Regions from separate parts of the Homo sapiens genome. Here all the other regions are linked to region 1. Evidence: promoter capture Hi-C in 16 types of primary human blood cells and fetal thymus (Javierre and others, 2016). All regions are on one chromosome and are shown on one strand. Each heading gives the region's core, a stretch centred on a gene start or on the middle of the fragment in contact. The rest is flanking DNA. Distances are from core to core; before and after follow the strand shown.

The links. The method cuts DNA at HindIII sites, captures the fragments that hold promoters and counts their contacts. A CHiCAGO score of 5 or more calls a contact.
Region 2: a fragment that was not itself captured here is called in contact with the fragment with the promoter of MLC1 in region 1 in 3 of 17 cell types (erythroblasts, megakaryocytes and total B cells); the score reaches 9.7 in erythroblasts.
Region 3: a fragment that was not itself captured here is called in contact with the fragment with the promoter of MLC1 in region 1 in 2 of 17 cell types (erythroblasts and total B cells); the score reaches 5.8 in erythroblasts.
Region 4: a contact is called between a fragment that was not itself captured here and the fragment with the promoter of MLC1 in region 1, in 7 of 17 cell types (naive B cells, total B cells, endothelial precursors and 4 more). The highest score is 7.9, in naive B cells.

What each region holds. Positions count from the first base shown.
Region 1 is chr22:50,083,454-50,089,892 of GRCh38, forward strand. It overlaps MLC1 (modulator of VRAC current 1), which reads right to left and starts at 1,973. Exons shown (of 12, transcript NM_015166.4): 1 at 1,902-1,973; 2 at 1,273-1,508. The coding sequence starts at 1,449. RefSeq lists an enhancer at 1,621-2,245. The HindIII fragment of the contact is 3,674 bases long and covers 1-2,676 here.
Region 2 is chr22:49,852,733-49,859,171 of GRCh38, forward strand. ZBED4 (zinc finger BED-type containing 4) reads left to right here and starts at 1,112. Exons shown (of 2, transcript NM_014838.3): 1 at 1,112-1,257. It overlaps LOC124905147 (a long non-coding RNA gene), which reads right to left and starts at 4,924. Exons shown (of 2, transcript XR_007068156.1): 1 at 4,762-4,924; 2 at 1,770-2,554. LOC105377205 (a long non-coding RNA gene) reads right to left here and starts at 780. Exons shown (of 5, transcript NR_188597.1): 1 at 1-780. RefSeq lists silencers at 460-549, 570-1,299, 1,470-1,759 and enhancers at 3,945-4,605, 6,208-6,439. The HindIII fragment of the contact is 470 bases long and covers 2,044-2,513 here.
Region 3 is chr22:49,868,332-49,874,770 of GRCh38, forward strand. All of the region lies in intron 1 of ZBED4 (zinc finger BED-type containing 4), which reads left to right. It also overlaps a transcript of ALG12 not described here. Among named protein-coding and RNA genes, the nearest start is that of ZBED4, 18 kb to the left of the region's middle. The HindIII fragment of the contact is 711 bases long and covers 2,357-3,067 here.
Region 4 is chr22:49,886,193-49,892,631 of GRCh38, forward strand. It overlaps ZBED4 (zinc finger BED-type containing 4), which reads left to right. Exons shown (of 2, transcript NM_014838.3): 2 at 1-3,888. The coding sequence ends at 986. It also overlaps a transcript of ALG12 not described here. Among named protein-coding and RNA genes, the nearest start is that of ALG12, 29 kb to the right of the region's middle. RefSeq lists an enhancer at 2,091-2,592. The HindIII fragment of the contact is 1,394 bases long and covers 1,898-3,291 here.

The DNA of each region.
Region 1 (6,439 bases), core at 723-3,222:
TTTAGAGCAAGGAATGGCACCTCTCCCCACAAAATACTCCTGCCCCAACATGTTGTGCGTGCAGTCTTCCAGATCCCACACCCAGGTCCAGACACGAGACTGGAAAACAACTGCCCATCCCCCTCCGTCTGCAGAACCTAATTTCCAGATCTGGAAGAAGATCCCTCCAGGCAGGGGCTCCAGGCCCAGGGGCTCCTGAGCAGGGAAGACCCTAGCAGGAGGCAGGGAGGGTGCTCTCTCTCACGCACAGCACTGCAGGGGTGCGGTGGGGAGGGGGCTCTCTCTCACGCACAGCACCCCCGGGGTGAGTCTGAGGGGAGTCAGTATCAAAGGTCACTGGGACCCAGGGTCCTGGCAGAGGAAGCGAGGTCTGGGGCAGAGGGGATCTGGCCTGGGCGGGGGAGGGGCTGCGACCAAGTCCAGGGCACCAGGTGGAGGAGGGCAGAGCCCGGAGATGGCCACCACCACCCGGGAGCCGCCTCTGTCCCCAGCTCCGAGGCAGACGCCTGTCTTGGTGGGGCATGCTCAGGCCACGGGAGGTGGGCAGGACCACTGTGGGTGCTGCAGGGGCTGCCGGCGGAGGCCAGGGCACAGGGAGGGGAGAAATCACAGCCTGGATCTCATTCTCAGCCCAAGCTACACGGAACCGGGGGTCCCTGCATAGAGGCCTGTCCTGCAGCATGGCTCTGAGCAGCTGCACACACTCAGGCCCAAGTGGCTCCTCCAATCATCTCTGTGCCCACGACTGTGCAGGGAATGGCCAGGACCCCAGGGAAATCCCTCGGACATCTGGCGCTGCCCGTCCACCCCAGACCTGTTCCTTTGTTCCCCAGCTCCCTCCCAGCCGGCCCCTGAGGCCCTCCCTAGGAGGAGGAGGTCCCTGAGGTTCTCTCTGTGAGGGCCGACCTGAAGGCCTGAGACGCCTCCTCCCACCTTTGCAGGTGACCCCTCAGAGGACCCTGGGCCCCCAGAGCCGAGGGTCATGGAGACTCCTGGGGCCCATTCATGGCCCTGGGACTGTCCCTACCCTGGTGGGACTAAGCCACAACCTGGAGCAGCTCAAGGCTGGCACAACAGACACCCATAAATTAATAAAAATAATTGTGAAAACACAAGCAAAACAAGCTCGTCGGCATCCAAGAGTTCTGCAGCAGCAGGGTTAGTCTGAGAGTTGCTCTCTCTGTCCCACCTGGGGCTCCAGGGCGCTGCAGTCCGTCACCAGAGGGACCAGATGCTCGTGGCCCTCCAAGGGCTTAGTGTGGAGCTACTCACCCCCATCAGCACAGAGAAGACCCACGTCTTGTGGCTGAAGCAGGGGGGCAGTCTCTTCGACAGCTGCAGGTCGCTCGGCTTCGCGTCTGGGGCATAGCTGGCGGGGTCTTGCCGGCCCCGCTCCAGCGTGGGCATCCGGTCATAGGCCAGCTCCTCTCTGAATGGCTCCTGGGTCATGGCACTTGGGGACACCACAGCTGTGCTGAATGTACAGCCACGTGTCACCAGTTCTTTATCTGGAATAAAATTATCATCGGCTTTGGCCACTCTGAGGAAACTTCAATAAGTTGTTTCCAAGAAATATTTTTTAACAAAAGAAATATTGTTCATACTGAAGTGCTCTAAATTTGAAGAAGAAAATGAGCACTTGAATCTAAAAGTGAAAAAGAAATAACTTTCCTAGAAAAACGGACCTGAATAGTCTGGGTTCAGGGTGAGATTCTACACTTTAAATGCCTCATTGATCCATCTGGGCCCTCCAGGTGCAACACCTGACAACATCCATCGGCAACTTCGTCCATGAACACATCACGCCGGGGACTCAAGCACGTTAAACTGCTCCAATTGGTAGCTAAACGAGAGATTGCAAAACATGCCTCTACTCAACGGCTTAATGTCTGAGCACTTACCTCCCCCGCTGCTCTGCCGTTGGGAGCACTGGTCTCTGGGTGAGGGACTTCCAGCAAGAAGTATTCACAAATGAAACAAAAGCTCAGCAAACTTGAGCTGAAGGCAGGGGAAGGAGAGCTGCTTCCTGAATATCAATGAGGGGAGGAATCGGGTGGATCGTAGAAATGTTTCGTGTTGGTTGTGTAAACCACTGCCTCGGAGCTGTCAGAACCCAACTAGGAAAGGAAGGGGCCCTGCCTGTGCCACTCGCCACAGAGCTCGGGTCTCTCAGAAGAAAGAAGCGTCCCTAAGAATAGAATCCCACCAAGTACACATTCTGAGCAGGCTCTGTTTCTGAAACGTAACTGTTTACTCGAAGGTCTTCTACATCTTTCCAAGTAGCCTTTTTCCATCCCCCACAGCCACACGGTGGGAACCTCCTTCACACGGTCACATAAGCATTCACGCACTCGGCTTAGCTGTGTGGCCTTGGGCGGCTCCGGATTCGGCCCTGTGGTTTGCGTGGGCAGCCCGGATGGCTGGTGGGCCCGGTCCTGCTGCCCCCTTTATCTCTGCTCACCAAGCAGAGAAAAACCACAGTAATGTGTGTCGCCCAGAGACACTGGCACCCTGACAACTACAGCAACGGGTTCTTTGTGCACATTGTAAAAAGGCTCAAACTAAAGTTTCTGAAAAACCAGCTCCTTAAACCATGAACCCACATTAAAACTTGAGCAAAGTCATCAGGTTCCAGACCATGGGATGTTCTGTTGTCTTCGTTTCAATCAAGCAAGAAGCTTTTAGTAAGCTTTTATTAGCTTTTAGTAAGTTTTTATTAGCTTTTAGTAAGATTACACATACAAGCATCCCTGTCCCAGTGAAAATGCCCACTAAATCACCTCGATCAAAATGCGTAAGTGTCAAGTACGCATAAATGCAGCTCAAAACACTTTGCTCAACCTCACCCCCACAGGAAACAGCAGTGATAAATTTTTAGCAATAAACGAAAGTTTAAGCTATACTAGTATTTTAGGGTTAGTTAATTTTGTGCCAGCCACCACAGCCAATGTTCTGTTGTCTTCATTTCAATCAAGCAAGGATGAGAAATAATTTTCAAAAACTATAATCTGTGAAGTCAAGAACTCATTTTAATGGATTGAGAAACCTCCCAAACTTCACTATCTTTTAAAGCGATAAACGGGATTAGTGGGAGTGGGTCCAACTGGATCGAATCCTCCTGTGTTTCTTTTTGTTTGGAAAAAAATGTTAATCGGATTTCAACATTTTTTTCTTTCAAAAGTTGCTCTCCACTTAGAAATACAAACAAGCTGCCCTGAACCAGAGGTTGCAGAGCAAATCCCTCAGCTTCCCAGATCATAAGTCATCACTTGAGAAATGCTCCCAAGTTTCTGTTGGCAACACTAGTTTCTAGAACAGGCCCTGTTCTTTCATACAATCTTCCAACAAATTCTTGCTCCTAAAATGCCCTTCATCCCTCTGCCTGCTGATGTCCCATCATCATTCAACATTCAACAAACATTTATGGGGTGGACAAAGAAGTGACGTCCTTCCTATAGGCTGTTTACATTCATTGGGGGCACAGGAGTGCACAGGATAAACAAATTAGTGTGTTATACAGTGATATGGTTTGGCTGTGTCCCCACTCAAATCTCATCTTGAATTGTAATTCCCATAATTCCTACATGTCGTGGAAGGGGCCCGGTGGGAGGTAATTGAATCATGGGGGTGGTTACCCCCATGCTGCTGTTCTCCTGACAATGAGTGAGGTCTTATGAGATCTGATGGTCTTTTATAAGGGGCTTTCCCCGCTTTTGCTCAAGACTTCTCCTTCCTGCCACCTTGTGAAGAAGGACATGTTTGCTTCCCCTTCCACCATGATTGTAAGTTTCCTGAGGCCTCCTCAGCCCTGTGGAACTGTGAGTCAATTAAAGCTCTTTCCTTTATAAGGACTTGACTCTAAAATTACCCAGTCTTGGGTATGTCCTTATAGCAGCGTGAGAACAGACTAATGCATCCAGTGACACACATGATTTCCTCTATGAGGGAAAAGAAGTCAGGGGAGAGAAATGAGGGGCTGCTGTTTGCAGGGGCCAGGGCAGGCCTCAGTGAGAAGGAGGCAGGGAGGGGAGGCTGGCAGAGTTGAAGCAAAGGCCACAGGTTGGGGAAGGCAGGCGAGGACCATGCAAGGGGGATACAGGTAGGACAGCCAGGTGCCAGCACCTGTGGGTATGGAGACGACTCTGCTTCAACTCTGAGACAGACCTGCTGGAGGGGTCTGGGCAGAGCAGCATCCGGTCACTCACTGGGTGGAGAGCAGGCTGGGGGGTGGGAGGAGCAGGTGCTGCCTGGCATTGAGGTGGCAGTGGGCAAGTGGTGAGGAGGGACTGGGCTCTGAACAGGGTTTGAAGAGCGGACGCAATCTGCTGTCAGGGCGACGTTGCTGAGTTCTGTCTGAGCAGTGAGGACAGAGATGAGAAGACCAGGGTGGAGCAGGTGTGGAGCGAGGATCTGGAGTTCCATTCTGGACATGATGAGGCCGAGATGTCTGTGGGCATCTGCCGGGTCTACTGAGTCCAGAATCCCAGGGAGTGGCCCGAGCTGGGGAGCTGAGGGGCAGCCCTGCAGGCACAGCACCCGCTGCGAGCTGCCCTGGCAGGGAGCCCATGAGCCACCAGCCCTCATGCAGCTCGCTCTTGTTTCCAAGCTAATCTCCCACCAACCAGTAGGTCCCTGGGACCCTGCTGGCTCCTGTATGTGTTCCAGCACCCAGCCCAAGACACAGGCTTAGCGGGGATTTGAAATGCTAGGGAGTGCGCCACTCTCTCCCTTCCCACAGCAAGAACTATCAGTACACTCTGCATCCATGGACAGGCAAGGTCCAGGCTGTCATCAGACTGACAGATCTGACCTAGGAAAATAAAGCTATGTCAATCAAAAATAAGTCGGGGCTGGGCGCAGTGGCTCACACCTGTAATCCCAGCACTCGGGAGGCCAAGGCGGGTGGATCACCTGCGGGTCAGAAGTTCGAGACCAGCCTGACCAACATGGTAAAACCTTGTCGCTACTAAAAATACAAAAAAAAAAAAAAAAAAAAAAAAAAAAAAAAGCCAGCGTGGTGGCGCACGCCTGTAATCCCAGCTGCTCTGGAGGCTGAGGCAGGAGAATCACTTGAACCCGGGAGGTGGAGGCTACAGTGAGCTAAGATCATGCCACTGCATTCCAGCCTGGGCGACGGAGCAGGACTCCATCTCAAAAAAAAAAAAAAAGAAATAATAAAAAACAGAAACCACTGGAATAGTAAAGATATATATACGTATTTTGTTTTTGTTTTTGTTTTGAGGCAGAGTCTTGCTCTGTCTCCCAGGCTGGAGTGTAGTGGTGTGATCTCAGCTCACTGCAACCTCCACCTCCTGGGTTCAAGTGATTCTTCTGCTTCAGCCTCCCAAGTAGTTGGGATTACAGGCATGCGCCACCATGCCTGGCTAATTTTTTTTGTATTTTTTTGTAGAGACAGGATTTTGGCAGGTTGACCAGGCTGGTCTCGAACTCCTGACCTCAAGTGATCTGCTCACCTTGGCCTCGCAAAGTGTAAAGATATTTTTAAAATAGAGAAAAATCAATGAAATCAAGGGATGATTTTTTTTAAAAACTCAATAAAATTGATAAATATAGACTGATCAAGGAAAATGAGAGGGATGAGATAAATTACCTATGTCAAGAATGAAAGATGGCTCATCATTATGGACCATACAGACGTTAAAAGGATAATAAGGAAATATGCTGAACAACTTTATGCCAATAATCTGACATCTAATAATTGGATGAAATGGACAAATTCCTTAAAAGAATTACCAAAGTTTATTCAATATTACCTTGATAACTTGAATAGCCCTCTAGCTGATGCAGAAGTGAATTTCTCATTAAAAACCTTCCCACAAAGAAATCTCGAAGCCCAAATGGGTTCCCCAGCGAATACTACCACAATTTTTAGGGAATAAGTTACCCCATCCTACTCCCAGGTCACTGCAGGCCCGGCTTAAACCGACCCCAAACCAGACAGACACAGAAAACGGGAGGTCGGCCACAGAGCAATCTGCTTCACCAGCACCGTCCCCAACCTTGGACAAAGCGTTACCAAGCTGAGTCAGGCAATACACCAAAAGGATAACGAATCGTGACCAAGTGAGTTTTCCAAGGAGAGCCAAACAATGTAATTCCCTATGGGCTGAAATAAAAAGCTACAGGATCATTTGAATACATGCAGAAAAGCGTTGCAGAAAATTTCACACCCACTCATAAGAACTCTTGGAAAAACAGGAATAGAGGGAACTTCCTCAACTTGATAAAAAACACCAACAAAAAACGACTCCTAACATCACTCTGGGTGGTGAAAGCGCACTTTTCCCTAATGTGTGGGCGGCAAGAAGGCGGACCCGCTCGAAGCTCCGCCCACCCACGCGAGGCCCCGCCCGCCCGCTCGAAGCCCCGCCCACCCGGCGGTCACACCGCCTTGCGCGCTCGGCATGACGTCACTCCC
Region 2 (6,439 bases), core at 1,029-3,528, 230 kb before region 1:
TCAGGTGATCCACCCGCCTCGGCCTCCCAAAGTGCAGGGATTACAGGCGTGAGCCACCGTGCCCGGCCGATATTTGAATGTCATATACTTTTCATATATGCTAAAATACTGTTTTAATTCTCCCCCAACCTCTTAAAAACGAGAAAAGCATTCTTAGCTCAGGCACCATAGAAAACCCGGCTGCAGGCTGGACGTGGACTTTGGAACAGTCGGCGTGCGGGTGAAGGGGCACAGCCGCGGGGCAGGGGCGGGCTCCGGGCAGAGGCGGCCGTGATAACTCCACGCTCCCGCTCCAGCCGGTGACCGCCACGCGGGCTCCTCTCACTCTCACACTCAGGCCGAGAAAATGCCGAAAGCCGTGTCACCAACGGGGGACCTCGGGGCCACATTCAGCATGCAGAGTTTATTTGGTCTGCTCAAACATTTGTGTTAGGAAATAACACATTAAAAGTGCACATTTCCTTCAGACCCTGAGAAGCGGGCGAGTCCCGTGCGCTCCGCACCGCCAGCCCCGGCCCCGCGCTCGCCCAGAGGGCCGCCCTCCTCCCGCCGACCCGGCTTGGGGCTTAGGCGTTAATCCCGTCCCCCGGGGGGGCCGCGCGGGGAGCCCCGATCGCCTTAGGGTCAACGGCTTAGGTCCCAGCCCACGAGGCCTGACCGCACCGCACTGAGCGGCCTCTGCGCCAGGTAAGGGGGTTCGGGGCGGGACCGGGAACCGCGCTGCTAGCCGTCCCGGAAACCCGCGGTGGGCCGTTGGGTGCGCGCCGAGCCGCTGCCAACTGCCAAGCCACGGGACGAAACCAAGGCGCCCGCGCCCCGCCCAGCCAGAGCGCCTAAGCCCTTCCCGTCGCCCGCCAGCGCCGGAGCGCCCACTGCGCCTGCGTAGTTTGCCCTCCTGGACCCGGGGGCGGAGCCGAAGCGCGCATTGCGCCTGCGTCTTCCGCCCGACCCCGCCCCAGCGGCCGGGCCTCCGGCGCTCCGTCCTCCCGCCCGGCCAGGGACGAGGCGGGGCGGGTACGCGGACACTGCGCCTGCGAGAGTAGGCCCCGCCCCCGATCGGCCCCGCCCCCGGCCAGCCCCGCCCCGCGCCGCGCGGGGCCCTGGGAGGGGCGCAGCGTCCGGCGGCGTCGCGGGCGGCGGGCGGCGGGGCCGCGGGAGGGGCGCGGGGGCAGACAAAGCCGCGGTAATGAATGGAGCGTCCGCCCGCGCCGCCGTCGTCCGCAGCCGGCCGGGAGCCGCCCCAGAGGCCGGGCCGAGGTGAGTGCGCGGGCGCCGCCGCCCCGCCGCCTGCCGCGAGCCCCGTCCCCCGCGGACCGCGCCGGGGCCGGGCCGGGCCGCGCCATTGTCTGCGCCGCGCCGGGGCCAGGGCCGGGGCCAGGCGGGCGGGGGCGCGGTTCCGTGGCCTCGGGGTCCCCGCCCGGCGCCGCCCCGGACCCGCCCCCGCGCGGACCCCGGCCCTGACAGCTGGCGCGGGGGCGGCGCCGACTGAGCGGCCGAGTGCCGGGGGTCGGCGCCCGGCCTGGCCCACGTGCCCGCGCCGTTGCTTCCGGGCGGACGGGACGGGGCTCGGGCTCGGGGCGCCGCCCGGGTCCGCCGGGAGCGCGCTGTCCCGGCCACGTCGAGTTAACCCCGCGAGCCCCGTCCCTGGGACTTCTCTGGACGTGTCATTCCCGTCCCACCTCCAGGAAGGGCCACCTGGGCCCTGCTTCATGTCTCAGCCCAGACGGGTCCTTGCGACGCGCCCCGAGGCAGGTTATTGTACGTGGTTCTGGGGATGACCGTTCACATTTAATGAATAAAAATGTAACTTGCCTTGCGAACCATAATTTCAAATGTTTTTCGACTGCAGTGGTTTTCCTACACCCAAATGAGCTCGCAGTCAGTTTTGTTTCTTCTTTTGTCCCGTTGTGTGGCCCACACCGCCTTCGTTGCTAAGAGAATCGCAGCCCCTCGGGCTCCCTTCTGCGCCTTTCTATTCCGGGTGGCCCTGGTAGACCCGGGCACCTCTGTGGAAACACGTCCCGGCCAAGCTGAGCCGTCAGAAGCTTCTGTTGGTGTTCTCGTGTTGGTCGAAAGGGAAGTTATTTATTTTGAAGTTAACTCTGATCAGATTACGTTTTTAGAAATCCATTCAGACCTCATAGTGAGGCCAGTTTGGTAAAGCAAGGGCATCCTGCGACTTTTTACACAGAAATGTTTTTTATTTTTTCTGTGTATGTCATTCATAGTGACAAAATTGAGGCTAGGAAGGATTTGGTTGGGATTTTTTTTTAAGTGCTATGAATAAGCCACATTTTGATTATGAATTAATTGCAATTACTAAACAAAGTTACTTTGCAAGAGGAAAGTTTACAGGAGTTTGATTCCATACTCCGAGGGTTTCCAATGGGACGTCCGTACAAGGCTGCACACTTCCCGTAGTCCTTAAACGGATTATATCTGCTTGTCATGATTGGCTTTTTTTCAAGAAAAGATCTAGCACAAGTTAAGAGAGATTCTGTGAATCTTGAAAAAGCTTCAGAGGCCCGGTCTTTGAGGTGAGGACACAGTTAATCTATATGGAAAGAAACCTAAGACTTTTAGTCCACTTGACAGGTGGTTACAGGGTCTCCCCCAACACACACTCTTGTCCAGGTAATTCCTGAATAAGGTGGTTGATGTTGTTGGATGTAAAACCTCTGCTCTTTAAGGTTACCTCCTCCCCAACCCCCTCCACACACACAGTGAGTAACTCAGCTGTGCAAAGTATGTCCATAACACCTTGCAGAAAGACTAAAAAAATTACTAGGGGAGCGGACTGACTTCTGTGTGTGTGCAGAGGAGCTGAGAAGCAGCTTCTTTAGCGAAAGGTGTGTGTGTGTGTGTGTCTCAGATCCTTGGTGAGGAGCCCTGGGGAGTGGACTCCTGGCGGCATGAGGAGCAGGAAGTGACCGTGGTCAGTGCCGTCCTTCACTTTGTTTTGCGTTTTTTTCTTTGCCTGGCTTTAGCTTCTGGTCTCATTCTCTTTGGTGTGGTGGTTGTCTTTTGAGAGGAGGGAGCAGGTGAAACAGCTGGGCGTGGCTTTGCCCAGCCCTGGGGTAGAGGCCAAGCTGGCCCTTCCTTACCAACGTTGTTTCCTTCACTGTTTAAATCTCAGGACCTGAGAATGTACCTATAGGAATTGCTCTTATTTACATTTGGCTGTGTAAGAAAGTCACTGTGCCTTTAGCCCGTGACACCCCTTAGCGGTTTGGTTTTGGCTTTCTCTTTTAGTGTCTGTGGATTCCAGCAGCTCTCTGGCTTCAGCCCTTTCAAGGATTCGGGCCTCTCTGCATCCCAGCCTTCCAGGCCCTTCTGCTCCCCACTTTTTAGCACCTAGGTTTTTCTACATTCTGCAGTACCTCAGATCCCTTCCTTGGTCATCACTGGATATGTGCTTTTGTAGTTCAAATTCTGGGAGGCATTGTTAGGAATAAAATAAGCTCTTTGCCATTTCTGAGGCGGAGGGGAGCAGGAGAGACAGAGGTGCTTGCCTCTCTGCCTGCTGGGGCCATGGTGGTTTTCAAAGAAGGCCCTGGCCGTAGGGAACATGGTGGTGGTGAGGAGCAGCGTAAACCAGAGAAAAAGGCTCAGTAAGTGCTTCAAGGAGAAACACCGGCAGGTGAGAGCAGGGGTAATCCCAGTTTCTCAGGAAAGCATGCTCCGGAGACCTCATAGGGAGAGGAGGTTGCCCTGAAGGGTCTGGGGGCGATGGCGGAAGCCCCAGGAGAGCATTGTCCATGAGGTGCAGAGGCAGCCTCACGGCATCCCAGTGCGTACCTCCTGCCCGGCCCAAGCGCCTGCTGCTGAAGCCGCCTCCCAGCTCCCCCGGGTTGTTTCGGAATTCAGGGGACATGCAGCCTAAATGACCCACACTGGAATCCCGGCCGGCTTCCCATCCCTCGTTCTAGGTGAAGGCCGCGCTGGAATCCCGGCCGGCTTCCCATCCCTCGTTCTAGGTGAAGGCCGCGCTGGAATCCCGGCCGGCTTCCCACCTCTCGTTCTAGGTGAAGGCCGCGCTGGAATCCCGGCCGGCTTCCCACCCCTCGTTCTAGGTGAAGGCCGCGCTGGAATCCCGGCCGGCTTCCCACCCCTCGTTCTAGGTGAAGGCCGCGCTGCAATGCCAGCCAGCTTCCCACCTCATTCTAGGTGAAGGCTTTTCAGCAGCCATGGCCCATGTCTTTCCCAGCAAACTCTGTGTGCAATAGAAACAGCTGATGCTGGCCTGGCCCTGGGGATGGGGTTGTGACTGCTGCAGCCCCCTACCTGATTAGGGTCGGGAGGACCTGGCCCCCCGCCCTTCCTGCCTTGCCACCTCCACAGACAAACCCTGAGGGGCTGACTTCCTCCAAAGCTGCTCCTCATCGAGGCCCACCTGGTGGTCTCTGCTCCACCTGTTTGCTGCAGGGAGCAGGGTCGGGAGCATGTGCATTTCGGAGAGCTCTGGTTGCTCCGTCATAGAAGCCATGCTCCACATCCTGTAAGTGAGAGACTCCCCAGCAGCGTTCAGCCATAGCTGCGATGTCAGGCCTGTCACTAGTGGGACTGCCCGGACCCCCAAGGTATGGGTACACGGCGAGGGTGCTGGTGTTAAATACAGGGGACCCACAAAACCACCTAGCAGAACAATCCACATGACCCTGTCGTGTGACCCAGAACATTTCAGGGATGGAACACGGACCAGCTGACCTTAGCGTGGTCGCTGGCTTGCTCTGGAAGGTGCCGTTTCCAAGACGCCCTTACCTGGGTTCCTGAGCACGTCTGACAGAGCAGCTCTGACTCCGGGTTTCTGGAGTCAGACCCCTTGCCACTGTCTTTGACCTTTAGCTTTGGGTTCCCCTTCTCAGTTTGTTTGTTTGTTTGTTTATTCTCACTCTGTCACTCAGGCTGGAGTGCAGTGTTACAATCTCGGCTCACTGCAACCTCTGTCTCCTGGATTCAAGTGATTCTGCTGCCTTAGCTCCCTGAGTAGCTGGAATTACAGGCACCCGCCACCGCACTCAGCTAATTTTTGTTTGTTTTTTGAGATGGAATCTTGCTCTGTCACCCAGGCTGGAGTGCAATGGCACAATCTCAGCTCCCTGCAACCTCTACCTCCCAGGTTAAAGCGATTCTCCTTCCTCAGTCTCCTGAGTAGCTGGGATTACAATAGGCGTGCGCCACCGTGCCCGGTTAATTTTTTTTTGCATTTTTAGTAGAGACGGGGTTTCACCATGTTGGCCAGGGTGGTCTCGATCTCCTGATCTCGTGATCCGTCCACCTTGGCCTCCCAAAGTGCCAGGACAGGACTACAGGCGTGAGCCACCGCGCCCAGCCAGTTTTTGTATTTTTAGTAGAGATGGGCTGTCACCATGTTGGCCAGGCTGGTCTCAAACTCCTGACCTTAGGTGATCCACCCGCCTTTGCCTCCCAAAGGGCTGGGATTACAGGCGTGAGCCACCGTGCCCGGCCCCCTTCTCAGTTTAGCCCAGACCTGGATGTTGGCTTCTGTGTGGGCAGCTGTTGTGAGCCATGGCTCCTGCTGGAATTTGTGGCAGTTGATGCTGCTGTGCACCCCCAGAATAGGTGAAGGCTACTCAGGTGTAGCCCCGATGGTAGTTTATGTCCTCAGGAGGAGAAACTGCCATGTCCCCGTCTGAACCAGGCCCGGAGTCTTGATGCATAGCTCTTTGCCTCCCTGGGTATACTCGACAGCTTGTTGAGAGTGCGTGTGCTCTGAGTTGAACACGAATATATTTCTGTTGTTTGAAGGTTATTATAAAGTTTCTAACTTACAGAGTTGGCACTCCTACGTCCCTTGCCCCCAGCTGGAGCTACCGTGACTGCCACCAGCTGCCACCTGGCACGTGCTGAACTGTCTTGAAGGAAACTGCAGATATCTGGACACTTCTCTAAGTGTTCTTTCTCCTAAGAAAGGGAAAGGGACATTCTACTGTCTAATGACAGTCGCGTCATCGATGGCGTCTACAAAACGTGACTGTGTCCCTTGGCGTCATCCAGTAGCCAGTCCACGGTCTGAAGTTGTCCCCCAACGTCTTTACTAGCTGTTTTTCCCAACCAGAATCGAGTACAGGGCCACGTGTCACAGTGGCTGTGAGGTCTCTTTGCGTTCCGGTGCCCCCGGAGCACCCCCTGTGATCTGGCGGTGGGAGGCCTGATTTGATACAGGGGCACGTTTGGGGCGCAGGTGATGCTGTGTGCTGCACTGTGGGCGGAGGCTGTCCCATGAGGACGGATGCGACTTTGCTCACTGGCCCTTTAAATTGTGTCCCTGCCCCCCACAGTTGGCGAGTTAGATGAGGGGGTGTCTCGGGGTGTGTGGACGCTCTGCTCCCATCAGACCTCCACATGCTGTTTGCTGGTCTCCCCAGAACCTGTGGGCAGTGGCACCTTGGCTTTAGTATGCTGTTGTTCTTTTTTT
Region 3 (6,439 bases), core at 1,462-3,961, 210 kb before region 1:
GAAGGAAGCTGGCTGAGGCTGGTGGATCACCCAGGATCAGGAGTTCGACACCAGCCTGGGCAACATGGTGAAACCCCATCTCCACAAAAAATGCAAAAAATTAACTGGGTGGTGGCACACACCTGTCATCCCAGCTACTGAGGAGGCTGAGGTGGGAGGATTACTTGAGCTCATGAGGCGGAGGTTGCAGTGAGCCAAGATTGTGCCACTGCACTCTAGCCTGGGCAACAGAGCGAGACTGTCTCTTCCAACAAAAAAGAAAAATGAAAACTGACCCAAGAAACTCTTGGACACGATGTGATTATAAACCTCCAAGTAAAAAGATAAAAATTATAAATGAATTGTGATCTCCAGCTAGAAGGCTTGTTTTCTTGGTGGCCTGGGTTAGTAATTCTGCAGCTACTTCGTGCATGTGTTGTAGGGTTGAGCAAATGAGGAAATCTGCCAGGAGGGTGGGAGCCCAGCCTCCCAGAGGTGGATTGAAACGTCACGGATGCAGGCCGGGCGCAATGGCTCACACCTGTAATCCCAGCACTTTGGGAGGCCAAGGCAGGCGGATCACCTGAGATTGGGAGTTTGAGACCAGCCTGACCAACATGGAGAAACTCTGTCTCTACTAAAAATACAAAAAAAAAAAAAAAAATTAGCTGGGTGTGATGGTGTATGCCTGTAATCCGAGCTGCTTGTGAGACTGAGGCAGGAGAATCACTTGAACCCAGGAGGCGGAGGTTGGGTGAGTCGAGATCATGCCATTGCACTTCAGCCTGGGCAACAAGAGCAAAACTGTCTCAAAAAAAAAAAAAAAAGAAAAATCACGGTTGTGGAAAGGGGGATGCTCGGTCTTGTGATCTCAGGGTCAGGGCAGAGTTGGCGGTGTCAGTGTGAAGTTGTGGCTTTGATTCACGTACACACATGCATGTTGGTGTGTGTGTTTATGGGTTCTAGTGCTTCCGCTGGAAGGGCCTAAAGGCAGAGGCACCCGTAACAGTGAGTGCACGGCTGCCTACCTCGTACCCGCGTGGTGGTTATCCACCTCGGGCCTTTTTGGCAGCGCTCGTCCTCCAGACCAGATTATTTCATCTCTGACTGGAGAACACTCTTGCGTGGACTTTAGTGTGGGTCACTTAGAGACACGTTCTGTGTTTGGTTTGTCTGATGGTGTTTTTTAGTTCCTGTTTATTCCTCAGGGAATATTTGTACTGCTTACTGAATTCTGGTTTGGCTCTCATTTTTCACAGCTTTGAAGATGTCATTCCTCTGTCTCCTGATTTACATTGTTTCTCTTAAAAAGTCAGCAGTGTATCTCATTGGTTTTTTTCTTAAAATAGCTTTCATGGAAATAATCTGATATACGTAAAAGTGGAAAGGGTAGCATAATAAACCCTGTGCACGCATCCCCAGCTTCAGAATTACCAGTTCACAGCCATTCCCATTTCATCTGTGTCCTCCACTCACTTTTTAAAAAGTTTTGTTTTTAAAAAGAATTTCAACTTTGATTTTAGATTCATCAGGCACATGTGCAGGTTCACGACATGGTATATTGCGTGATGCTGAGTTTGGGATAAGAATGATCGTCGCCCAGATCGTGAGCATGGTACTCAATAGGTTGTTTTTCAGTCTTGTCCCCTCCTCCCTTCCTCCCTCCCTCACTCCTCACTCTCGCAGTCCCAGTGCCTGTGGTTCTCATCTTTATGTCCCTGTGTACCACATGCTTAGCTCCCACTGATAGGTGAGAACATGTGGTATCCGGTTTTCTGTTCCTGTGTTTGTTCACTTAGGATGATGGTCTCCAGATGCATGCATGTTGCTGCAAGGGACATGATTTTGTTCTTTTTTATGGCTGTATAATATTCCATGGTGTGGATATACCACATTTTCCTTATCCAGTCCACCATTGCTAGGCACGTAGGTTGATTCCATGTCTTTGCTATTGTAAATAGTGCTGTGATGAACATACATGTGTACATGGGGTTTTTTTGTAGAATGATTTATTTCTTTGGGTACATACCTGGTAGTGGCATCACTGGGTCCAATGGTAGCTCTGTTTTTAGTTCTTTGAGAAGACTCCACACTGCTCTCCGCAGTGGCTGAACTCATTGACATCCCTGCCAGCAGTGCTTGAGTTTCCCTTTTCTCTGTAGCCTCTCCAGCATCTGTTATTTTTTTCTTTTTTTAATAAAAGCCATTGTGACGGGTGTGAGATGGTATCTCGTTGTGGTTTTGATTTGCACTTCTCTGATGACTGTTGATGTCGAGCATTTTTTCACGTCTGTTGGCCACTTTTATGTCTCCTTTCGAGAAGTATCTGTTCATGTCCTTTGCTTGCTTTTTAATGGGGTTATTTTATTTCTTGTTAAGCTTCTTATAGATTCTGGATTTCAGACCTTTGTCAGATGCATAGTTTGCAGATATTTTCTCTTATTCAGTGGGTTTTCTGTTTATTCTGTCGATGGTCTCCTTTTCTGTGATAGTTTCAGCTATGCAGAGGCTCTTTAGTTAGGTCCCAGTTGTCAATTTTTGTTTCTGTTACAATCCACTCAATTATTTTGAAGCAAATACCCAAAATCATAATTCACGTAGCTACATTTCAGTAAGTATTTTTAAAAGATAGATTTTTTTTTTTTTTTGAGATGGAGTCTCACTCTGTTACCCAGGCTGGAGTGCAGTGGTGCAATCTTGGCTAACTGCAACCTCCATCTCCAGGGTTCAAGCAATTCTCATGCCTCAGCCTCTCAAGCAGCTGGGATTACAGGTGTGCACCACAATGCCTGGCTAATATATTTTTTTTTAGTAGAGATGGGGTTTCACCCTGTTGGCCAGGCTGGTCTCAAGCCTCCCAAAGTGCTAGGACTACAGGCGTGAGTCACTGTGCCTGGCTTAGAATTCTCTTTTAAAAGTTAATTCATCAGCACTTTGGGAGGCCAAGGCAGGTGGATCACGAGGTCAGGAGTTCGAGACCAGCCTGGCCAATGTGGTGAAACCCCGTCACTACTAAAAATACAAAATTAGCTGGGTGTGGTGGCACGCACCTGTAATCTCAGCTACTCAGGAGGCTGAGGCAGGAGAAAGCTTGAACTTGGGAGGCGAAGCTTACAGTGAGCCGATATTGCCACTGCACTCCAGCCTGGGCGACAGAGTGAGACTCTGTCTCAAAAATAAAAAAAAAGTTACATTTTCAGTATAATGTAGTCTGGTAAGCGTGCAATAGCATGACGTCTAAAACAATGTACCTACCTTGATTTTTAAAAAGCTTGTTGCTGAAAATGCCAACAGTCATCTGAGCCTTCAGCAACTCATAATCTCAGCTGGGAGGAGATGTTGCCTTGGTGTCCAGGGCTGCTGACCAATCAGAGTGCAGATTGCTGACCAATCAGAGTGCAGATTGCTGAAGGGTGGGGTGGCTGTGACAATTTATTTATTTATTTATTTTTTTTTTTTTTTGAGACAGAGTCTTACTCTGTCGCCCAGGGTGGAGTGCAGTGGTGTGATCTCAGCTCACTACAACCTCCACCTCCTGGGTTGAAGCGATTCTCCTGCCTCAGTAGCTGGGATTACAGGTGCACACCAACATGCCCAGCTAATTTTTGTATTTTTAGTAGAGACGAGGTTTCACCATGTTGGCCAGGCTGGTCTCGAACTCTTCACCTCGTGATCCGCCTGCCTCGGCCTACCAAAGTGCTGGGATTACAGGCGTGAGCCACTGCACCCGGCTGACAATTTCTTAAAATAAGACAATGAAGTTTGCTACATCGATTAACTCTTCTATGAAAGAGTTCTCCATAGTGTACATTTTACCCACAGTAGAACTTCTTTCAAAATTGTAGTCAATCCTCTCAAACCCTGCTGTTGTTTTATCAATTATGCTTATAGAATATTCCAAAATCTTTATTGTCATTTTAACAGTGTTCATAGCATCTCCACCAGGAGTAGATTCCATCTCAACAAACTAGTTTCTTTGCTCATCCCTAAGCAGCAGCTCCTCATTCACTCAAGTTTTATCCTAAGAGTACAGCAATTCCGCCGTATCTTTGGGTTCTGTGTATAATTCTAGTTTTTGCCCTTTCCACCAAATCTGCAGTCACTTCCTCCATTGAAGTCTGAGCCCCTCAGAGTCATCCATGAGGGTTAGAATTAACTTCCTTCAACCCATTCTCCTGGTAATGTTGGTATTTTCCCGTCCCAGGAATCACACATGGTTTTGTTTTTGTTGTTTTTAGAGATATGGTCTTGCTCTGTCACCAAGGCTAAAGTGCAGTGTCACGATCACAGCTCACTGCAGTCTCAACCTCTTGGTCTCAAGCGAACCTCCCGTCTCAGCCTGCCAGGTAGCTGGGACTGCAGGTGTATGCCACCAAGCCTGGCTAATTTTTAAATTTTTTTTTTTTTTTCCTGAGATGGAGACTCACTCCATCGCCCAGGCTGGAGTGCAGTGACGTGATCGCGGCTCACTGCAACCTCTGCCTCCCAGGTTCAAGCGAATTCTCCTGCCTCAGCCTCCCGAGTAGCTGGGACCGCAGGCACCTGCCGGCTAATTTTTTTGTATTTTTAGTAGAGACAGGTTTCACCATGTTAGCCAGGATGGTCTCGATCTCCTGACCTTGTGATCCACCCGCCTCGGCCTCCCAAAGTGCTAGGATTACAGGCGTGAACTACCGCGCCCAGCCAATGTTTTAATTTTTTGTAGAGCTGGGGTTTTGCCATGTTGCCCAGGCTGGTCACAAACTCCTGAGCTCATGCAGTCCACCTGCCTTGGCCTCCCAAGGTGCTGGGATTACAGACATGAGCCACTACAGCCAGGGATTTCCTTCAAGAACTTTCCTTTGCATTCACGTCTTGGCTGTTGGTACAAGAGTCCTAGCGTTGGCCTCTCTCAGCTTTAGACGTGCCTTCATCACTAAGCTTAATCATTTCTATCTTTTGAAAATGAGAGACGTGATACTTCCTTTCACTTGAACATGTAGAGGATTAATCGGCCTAATTCTAATTTCTCGTGTGTCTCAGGGAAGAGGGAGGCTGGAGGAGAGGGAGAGAGACGGGGAACTGCTGGTTGATGGAGCAGTCAGGACACACATTTATCAGTTAAGTTCACTGTCTGACATGGGTGTGGCTTGTGGTGGCTCACGTTAATTACGATGGTAGCATTAGAGAGTACTGATCACAGATCACCATAACAGATACCATGATAATGGAAAAGTGTGAAATATTGCCAGAATTACCAAAATGTGACACACAGGTGGAGAGCCCCTGCTGTTAGAAAATGGCACCGATGGACGTGCTTGATGCAGGATTGCCACAAACCTCCAATTTGGGGGAAAAAAAAGTATCTGCAAAGAGCAGTAAAGCGAGGTGCGGTGATATGAGGTGATATGAGGTATTGGGTCTTCCCACCTCATCACCCCCACCCTGCAGCCCCAAGAAAGGCTCAGAGAGAGTCAAGACCAACCTAGAATGAGATGTCTGTTTTGAAGAGAGAACAGCTGGGTTCTTCTCGACCCACAGGGATGCACGGCCCACCTTGTAGGTTGGAGCGAGGAGCGTGGAGGACAAGATCATCCTGGAATGAGAACATAAGGGCTGGGGAATGGGGCGGCGCTGCCACCAGGGAGGAGAGATGCCTGAAATTAGGACATTCCCGGGGAGCTGGCCCGTGCCGAGAACAAGAATGAGCTTGAGTCCTGTGACCTCTCTGAACTCTCTTACTCTTTAGCTCTAGTACTGTTTTGTAGAGGCCTTACAACCTTTATGACATCGATGGCCCTGTCGTCTGCCCATCAAGGCAGTTCTGATTTTCTCTGACAGCCGCCTCCTGCCTGGGCAGACTCCCATCCAGTGCTGTATAGAATATGCCGAGGGGAAGCACTCACTCTTTCACTGATGAGTATGATGGGAGCTGCACTGTTTCCCGGATGCGTCTCATAAGGCTGAAGATGTTTCCTTCCATTCCTGGTTTGTGCAGAGTTTTTGCTGTGAATAGAGGTAGAAGTGTTGGCAAATGTTTTTCTACATCGAATGACGTGCCCATATGGTTTTCCTCCTTTTGCTAATGTATTGTTTTAATTTTTTTTTTTTTTTTAGATGGAGTCTTGCTCTATCTCCCAGGCTGGAGTGCAGTGGTGCGATCTCGGCTCACTGCAACTTCTGCCTCCCAGGTTCAAGCGATTCTCCTGCCTCAGCGTCCCAAGTAGCTGGGATTACAGGGGCCCACCACCATTTTTGTATTTTTAGTAGACATGGGATTTCACCAGTTTGGCCAGGATGCTCTTGATCTCCTGACCTCGTGATCCAGCTGCCTTGGCCTCCCGAAGTGCTGGGATTACAGGCGTGAACCACCATGCCCAGCCTTTTTTTTTTTTTTTTTTTTTTTTTTGAGACGGAGTCTCACTCTGTCGCCAGGCTGGAGGGCAATGGCTCGATCTCAGCTCACTGCACCTCGACCTCC
Region 4 (6,439 bases), core at 1,345-3,844, 200 kb before region 1:
GGATGGTGCAGAACCTGCTGAGCCTCGCCCGGAAGATCTGCGAGCGGGTGCACCGGTCGCCCAAGGCGAAGGAGAAACTGGCCGAGCTGCAGAGGGAGTACGCGCTGCCTCAGCATCACCTCATCCAGGACGTCCCGTCCAAGTGGAGCACTTCCTTCCACATGCTCGAGCGGCTCATTGAGCAGAAAAGGGCCATTAACGAGATGTCCGTCGAGTGTAACTTCCGAGAGCTGATCAGCTGCGACCAGTGGGAGGTCATGCAGTCCGTGTGCCGTGCGCTAAAGCCCTTCGAGGCTGCGAGCCGGGAGATGAGCACGCAGATGTCCACCCTCAGCCAGGTCATCCCCATGGTACACATCCTCAACAGGAAGGTGGAGATGCTCTTCGAGGAGACGATGGGCATCGACACCATGCTGCGCTCTCTGAAGGAGGCCATGGTGAGCCGCCTGTCTGCCACCCTCCACGACCCGCGGTACGTCTTCGCCACGCTGCTGGATCCTCGCTACAAGGCCTCCCTGTTTACGGAGGAGGAGGCGGAGCAGTACAAACAGGATTTAATCAGGGAACTCGAACTCATGAATTCTACCTCAGAGGACGTGGCTGCCTCCCACAGGTGTGATGCTGGCTCCCCGTCGAAAGACTCTGCCGCAGAGGAGAACCTGTGGTCACTTGTGGCCAAGGTGAAGAAGAAAGACCCAAGAGAAAAGCTGCCTGAAGCCATGGTGCTTGCGTATCTGGAGGAGGAGGTGCTTGAACACAGCTGTGACCCGCTCACCTACTGGAACCTGAAGAAGGCGTCCTGGCCGGGGCTGTCCGCGCTGGCCGTCAGATTTTTGGGCTGCCCCCCAAGCATCGTCCCTTCAGAAAAGCTGTTCAACACACCCACTGAGAACGGTAGCCTTGGCCAATCCAGGCTCATGATGGAACATTTTGAAAAACTTATCTTTTTGAAAGTGAATCTTCCCTTAATATACTTTCAGTATTGAAACTCACGACGGCACCACTAGGCCAGAGGCGTGGCTGCCCCAGCGTTAGCAGCCTGTACCAGGTCTATGACCCGCTCTGCCCACGGCTGTGTACGACATCAGACCAGGCACTCTCAGGGCCGCTCTCCAGCTCACCACAGTGTCTCCACGTGCCTTACCCCTTCTCCTTCAGGCCAAGTTTCGCGGGGTGTTTTATTAAGACGTCCACTAGAAATAGCTTGTCCTGTCAACTATGAAATATGGTGACTAGATTTTAATTCATAACCGTAAAGTTTTTTAAAGTTTTGGGTTAGTAATTTGTTTTACTAGAATGACAAAGAAGATGTAAACCATTTTATTCTGTAGGCTTTTTACTCAATTATGTACAAACCACAAATCAGGTACTGTATTTTAGTGAAGCATTGCTTTAATTGCAACAGAATAGCTTTTGTGGCTATCAAATGAAATCTGTAAATAGGAGGTGGAGGGCAAGCCATCCTGACTGAGCAGTTTTTAACCGCAGGTTCTAAAGTGTCCCGCGGAGTACAGATAATATTCTGGAAGGTAACTGTTTACTACGACAGAGACGTGGCATTTGGAAACGAAACTTAGATGTTTCATGGAGCTTATTTTGAGAACTTTCCCATTTCAGGTTTCTGCATTCAGGCTTTACATGGTCAGTTAACTCAGAGATACCCCAGCTGTTTATCATCAGCTCCTCTGAAATGTGATCCCTTTGTAACTGTGCTCATCACTTCGCCAGTGCGTTCAATGACACGCTGATGGCAGGTGGTCCCTGCTGAAACCCCCACGCCTCCGCTTCAGCATCTCCACGCTCTGAAGCTGTCTTTCAAAATGTGTGCACTGACCCCCTTGTTTGATCAAATTTGTGTAAAATTTTTTTAGAAGAGATGGCTTATTAACAGGGAAGAAGCTTGTTATATTCCAGTTGTAAGAATAGCCTTAGTGTTTAGATTTTTTTATGATAGGGAAGATGCGGCCATCACTGGGATATTTTCAAATCCCAAGGACATCAGAGTGAAGTGTCAGTTGTCAGATGATTTTAAAAGTTATGTCTTCAGAGAAAAAAAGATTCATTTTCTCATTTTAAACCAATTAAATATTCTGAGTGAGACTAATCACTCATTTGCCTACGACCTTTTAGAAAAGTTGTTTTGTTGAAATACTGTACGTACGCTTAATCTAAATTTGCATTGACTATGTTTTAGTGTATTTATAAATGGTGAACTCAGTTTCTGAAATTAAACTTCTTATTTGCAATTTTCTAGTGCTGGCAGACACTGGCTTTTTATTTTTAGGATAAGAAAACAGGCATATTCTTTGTGGTCCATTATCTAGAGCCCATACTTGGGCAGCATTTGAAATTTCACCTTAACCCCAGACAGGGCTCCAGGGAAGTGGAGATGTAATTCTTACAACAACAGTTCTGATCATGGCCATGGTGATGACTTTCCAGGTCTCGTGTTCAAGTGGTGCCAGAATGCAGGAGCCGGTGGGCAGCCCTGAGGGGTTGCCTTGGCCGCAGCCTCTGTGCACGCTCTTCCTGGTGTCCTCTTACCCGGTAGCTGTGCGCTTGTTCCCGTGAGAACAGCCTGCTTCCAGAGTGCCCAGGAGTGCTGGTCAGGGACAGTGCCCGTGAGGCTGCAGAGGAGGTGGGGTCCATGGCCCACCCATCTCTCCCTCGCCAGCAGCCCTGGCCAGTGTCATCCTGGTGTAGAAAGGGTTGCGCACAGGATAGGAGGGAGCCACAGTTCTTGCTTAGCTGTGCTCACGACCAGCTTGCAGTCCTGTGTTTCTTAAGATTGTATTTGGAATGGTAATATCCTTAGAATTTTGGGATATTGAGCTTCATGGATTTTCTCTCCAAAACAAGCCAGCACAACTAACTGTAGCAGAATTGTATCCACTCATTCATTCAACTGAGATGAAGTGCCCTCCCTTTTCCAGGGCCTGGGCTAGTTCCTGGAATGCAACAGAGATTTCCGTGGACACAGTCTCTAGTCTCACAGAGCATATAGTCTAGTCCACGATTGGCAAGCTGCAACCACAGACCCAGTCCGGCACTCTGCCCATTTTTCTAAGTGAAATTTTCTTGGAATACAGTCACAGCTGTTTTTTTAACATGGTGTCTTGGCTACTTTCAGGCTGCGACGGGAGAACTGAATAGTTGTGACAGAGACCACAGGCCCACTGAAAGGGACAAACAGGGCTGAAAATACTCACTGTTTGGCCCTTTCCAGAATAGCAAGTTTGCTGGCCCTTGAGCTAGCCTGCCTTTATGGGGTTTTTTTTGTTTGTTTTTTTAAGCTTTCAGCTTCATGCTGCTGTATTTTTAGTTGAAGTGTTCTGAGTAACAGTCAGTGTATAAAAGGGGATTGCAGAAAAAAATGAGGGCTTGCTTTACTCAACAGAAAATATGGCCCTTCCTGAATGACACTAGGAGAGTCATTTTATCTCATACATTCCCTTCATTTCGTTGGTGGACATTTGTTGAAACCGGCACTCAATGGTCAAACCGTCTCTGCCCTCCAGTTGCTGACAGTCCTGCAGGAAGATGGACAAGAGGCCCAGTGCTGACAGTCACACGACTCTCACTACTTGAATGAGGGGACTGTGGGTGCAACTAGAAAATATGTTGATTCTTAGCCATTCCCACCTTGCCTCTCCGTTCAGAACCCCAGCTGCGAGCTGTTTGTTTCCCTGCCTGGAAATGATGTTTTAGGCAGGTTCCTTAATTTCTCAGGTCTGTCTCAGATAATAAAAAGCTCTTTGTATGAGCCTCAGAACTGTCTCTTCAGTGAATGAAATTACCAGTCATTATACGAAGGGACTTTAAAAAATTTGTGGAAATACTGAAGTAAAAGATGATAAAAAAATAAAAACTTTATTTCTTGGCTGGGCACAGTGGCTTATGTTTGTAATCCCAGTACTTTGGGAGGCTGAGGTGGGAGGACTGCTTGAGGCCAGGAGTTCAAGAAATTAGCCAGGTTTGGTAGTGCATGCCTGTAGTCCCAGCTACTTGGGAGGCAGAGGGAGGAGGATTACTTGAGCCCAGGAGTTTGAGGTTGCAGTGAGCTGTGATCACACCACTGCACTCTAGCCTGGACAACAGAGCAAGATCCTCTCTCTTAAAACCACCAACAATGACAACAACAAAACAACATTTTTATTTCTCAATGTAAGCTCCATCAAGATCAAGATACTTTTGTAAGCTGTGACACCAGCCATTTAGTCCACCTCTAAAGAATTGCAGGCTCTGGGAATTTAACCATGTCAGTGCAGCCTTTTTAACATTATTAACGGAAGAAAAAATGAGTGCTTTTAAAGATTTTTTAAAATGAGGAAACAAAGTCAGAAGGAGCAAAATCGGGACTGTAAGGTGGATGCCTAATGATTTCCCAACAAAACTCTTGAAGAATTGCCCTTATTTGATGAGAAGAATGAGCCAGGAGCATTGTCATCGTGGAGAAAGACACTGATGAGGCTTTCCTGGGTGTGTTTTTGCTAAAGCTTCGGCTAACTTTCTCAAAACACTCTCATAATAAGATGTTATTGTGGCCAGATGCGGTGGCTCACGCCTGTAATCCCAGCACTTTGGGAGGCTGAGGTGGGCAGATCACGAGGTCAGGAAATCGAGACCATCCTGGCTAACATGGTGAAACCCCGTCCCGTCTCCACTAAAAATACAAAAAATTAGCTGGGCGTGGTGGCAGGCACCTCTAGTCCCAGCTACTCCAGCTACTCGGAAGGCTGAGGCAGGAGAATGGCGTGAACCTGGGAGGCAGAGCTTGCAGCTAGCTGAGATTGTGCCACTGCACTCCAGCCTGGGCGACAGAGCGAGACTCCATCTCAAAAAAAAAAAAAAAATGTTCTTTGGCCCTCCAGAAAGTCAACAAGCAAAATGCATTGAGCATCCCAAGAAACTGTTGCCATGACCTTACTTTGACTTGTCCACATTTGCCTTGACTAGGCCACTTCTACCTCTTGGTAGCCATTGCTTTGATTGTGGTTTGTCTTCAGGATGGTACTGGTAAAGTCCTGTTCCATCTCCTGTTATAATTCAAGGAAATGCTTCAGGGTCTTGATGCCACTTGTTTAAAATTTCCATTGAAAGCTCTGCTCTTGTCTGCAGCTGATCTGGGCACAACGGTTTTGGCACCCATCGAGTGGAAAGCTTGCTCAACTTCAATTTTGAACCAGTTGAGATGTCTGTGGTCTTGGCTATTGTTCTGTTAATCGTCAGTCCTCTTTAATCAGAGCATGAACAAGATCAATATTTTCCTTGCAAATTGATGTGGATGGTCTGCCACTGTGGTCTTCATCTCCAATGTTGTCTTGATCCTTCTTAAAACGAGGTATCTATGTGTATACTGCTGACTTCTTTAGGGCACTGTCCTCATACACTTTTTGTAAAGCATCATGATTTTCACCATTCTTCCACCCAAGGTTCACTATAGATTTGATGCTTGTTTTTGCTTCAGTTTTTGCAGAATTCATGTTCTGCTAGGAGCCCTTTTCAAACTGATTCTTACTGCCTCAAACTAGATCTATTCAGGCATGTTCTAACAAGTTAGTATGAGTTTATTTTGGAGCAAAAGAATTTTGAAATGCATGCATAGTTTTGTCATAATATGCATTTTCCATGAACTTTTTGAAGACCACTCCTGCAATAATAAAACATTGAACTTCATTTAAAGCTAAAATTCCCTTCTCTTCCACTTCTGACTATGAGGCAGCAACTGCTATCAGACCAAACCTTTCCCAAGAACTATCAAGGCCATATAAAATATATTTTTAAAAAGAGCTTTTTGCATCCTGGCTAAAACAGTGAAACCCCGTCTCTACTAAAAATACAAAAAATTAGCTGGGTGTGGTGGTGGGCGTCTGTAGTCCCAGCTACTCTGGAGGCTGAGGCAGGAGAATGGCGTGAACCTGGGAGGCAGAGGTTGCAGTAAGCCGAGATCGTGCCACTGCACTCCAGCCTGGGCGACAGAGCAAGACTCTGTCTCAAAAAAAAAAAAAAAAAAAAAAAAACTTTTTGAAGACATCAGAGAGTAAGACAGCCAGGATTTGAAGAAACAAAATCCTAGTAAGATGAGACTTGCATAAAGGTGAGTCCTGTGTTCACAACATTTTTTCCTGTTGGGCCATTTGCTGGTGTCCTGCCCTAAGGCCTGACAGAAGGTGGCAACCAGAGCTGGCGTGGTGTCACTGGGCTGGGAGACCGGCAGCAACACACAAGCTGTCATGTTGGCCAGGATGCCAGGAGCCTCAGAGAAGTGGCCGAATTCCCAGTGTGCAGCTTCCCCTGCAGCAGGTGCCTATTCCTGGTTGCTGCTTGTGCTTGAGGCAAGAGGCTTGGAAACCCAAATATAGCAGCAAAAGGCTGGAAAGCTGAGACATCTTTGGGCAAGGGAGACAAAACTTGGGACTTCAGTGCCTGCCATTGAGAA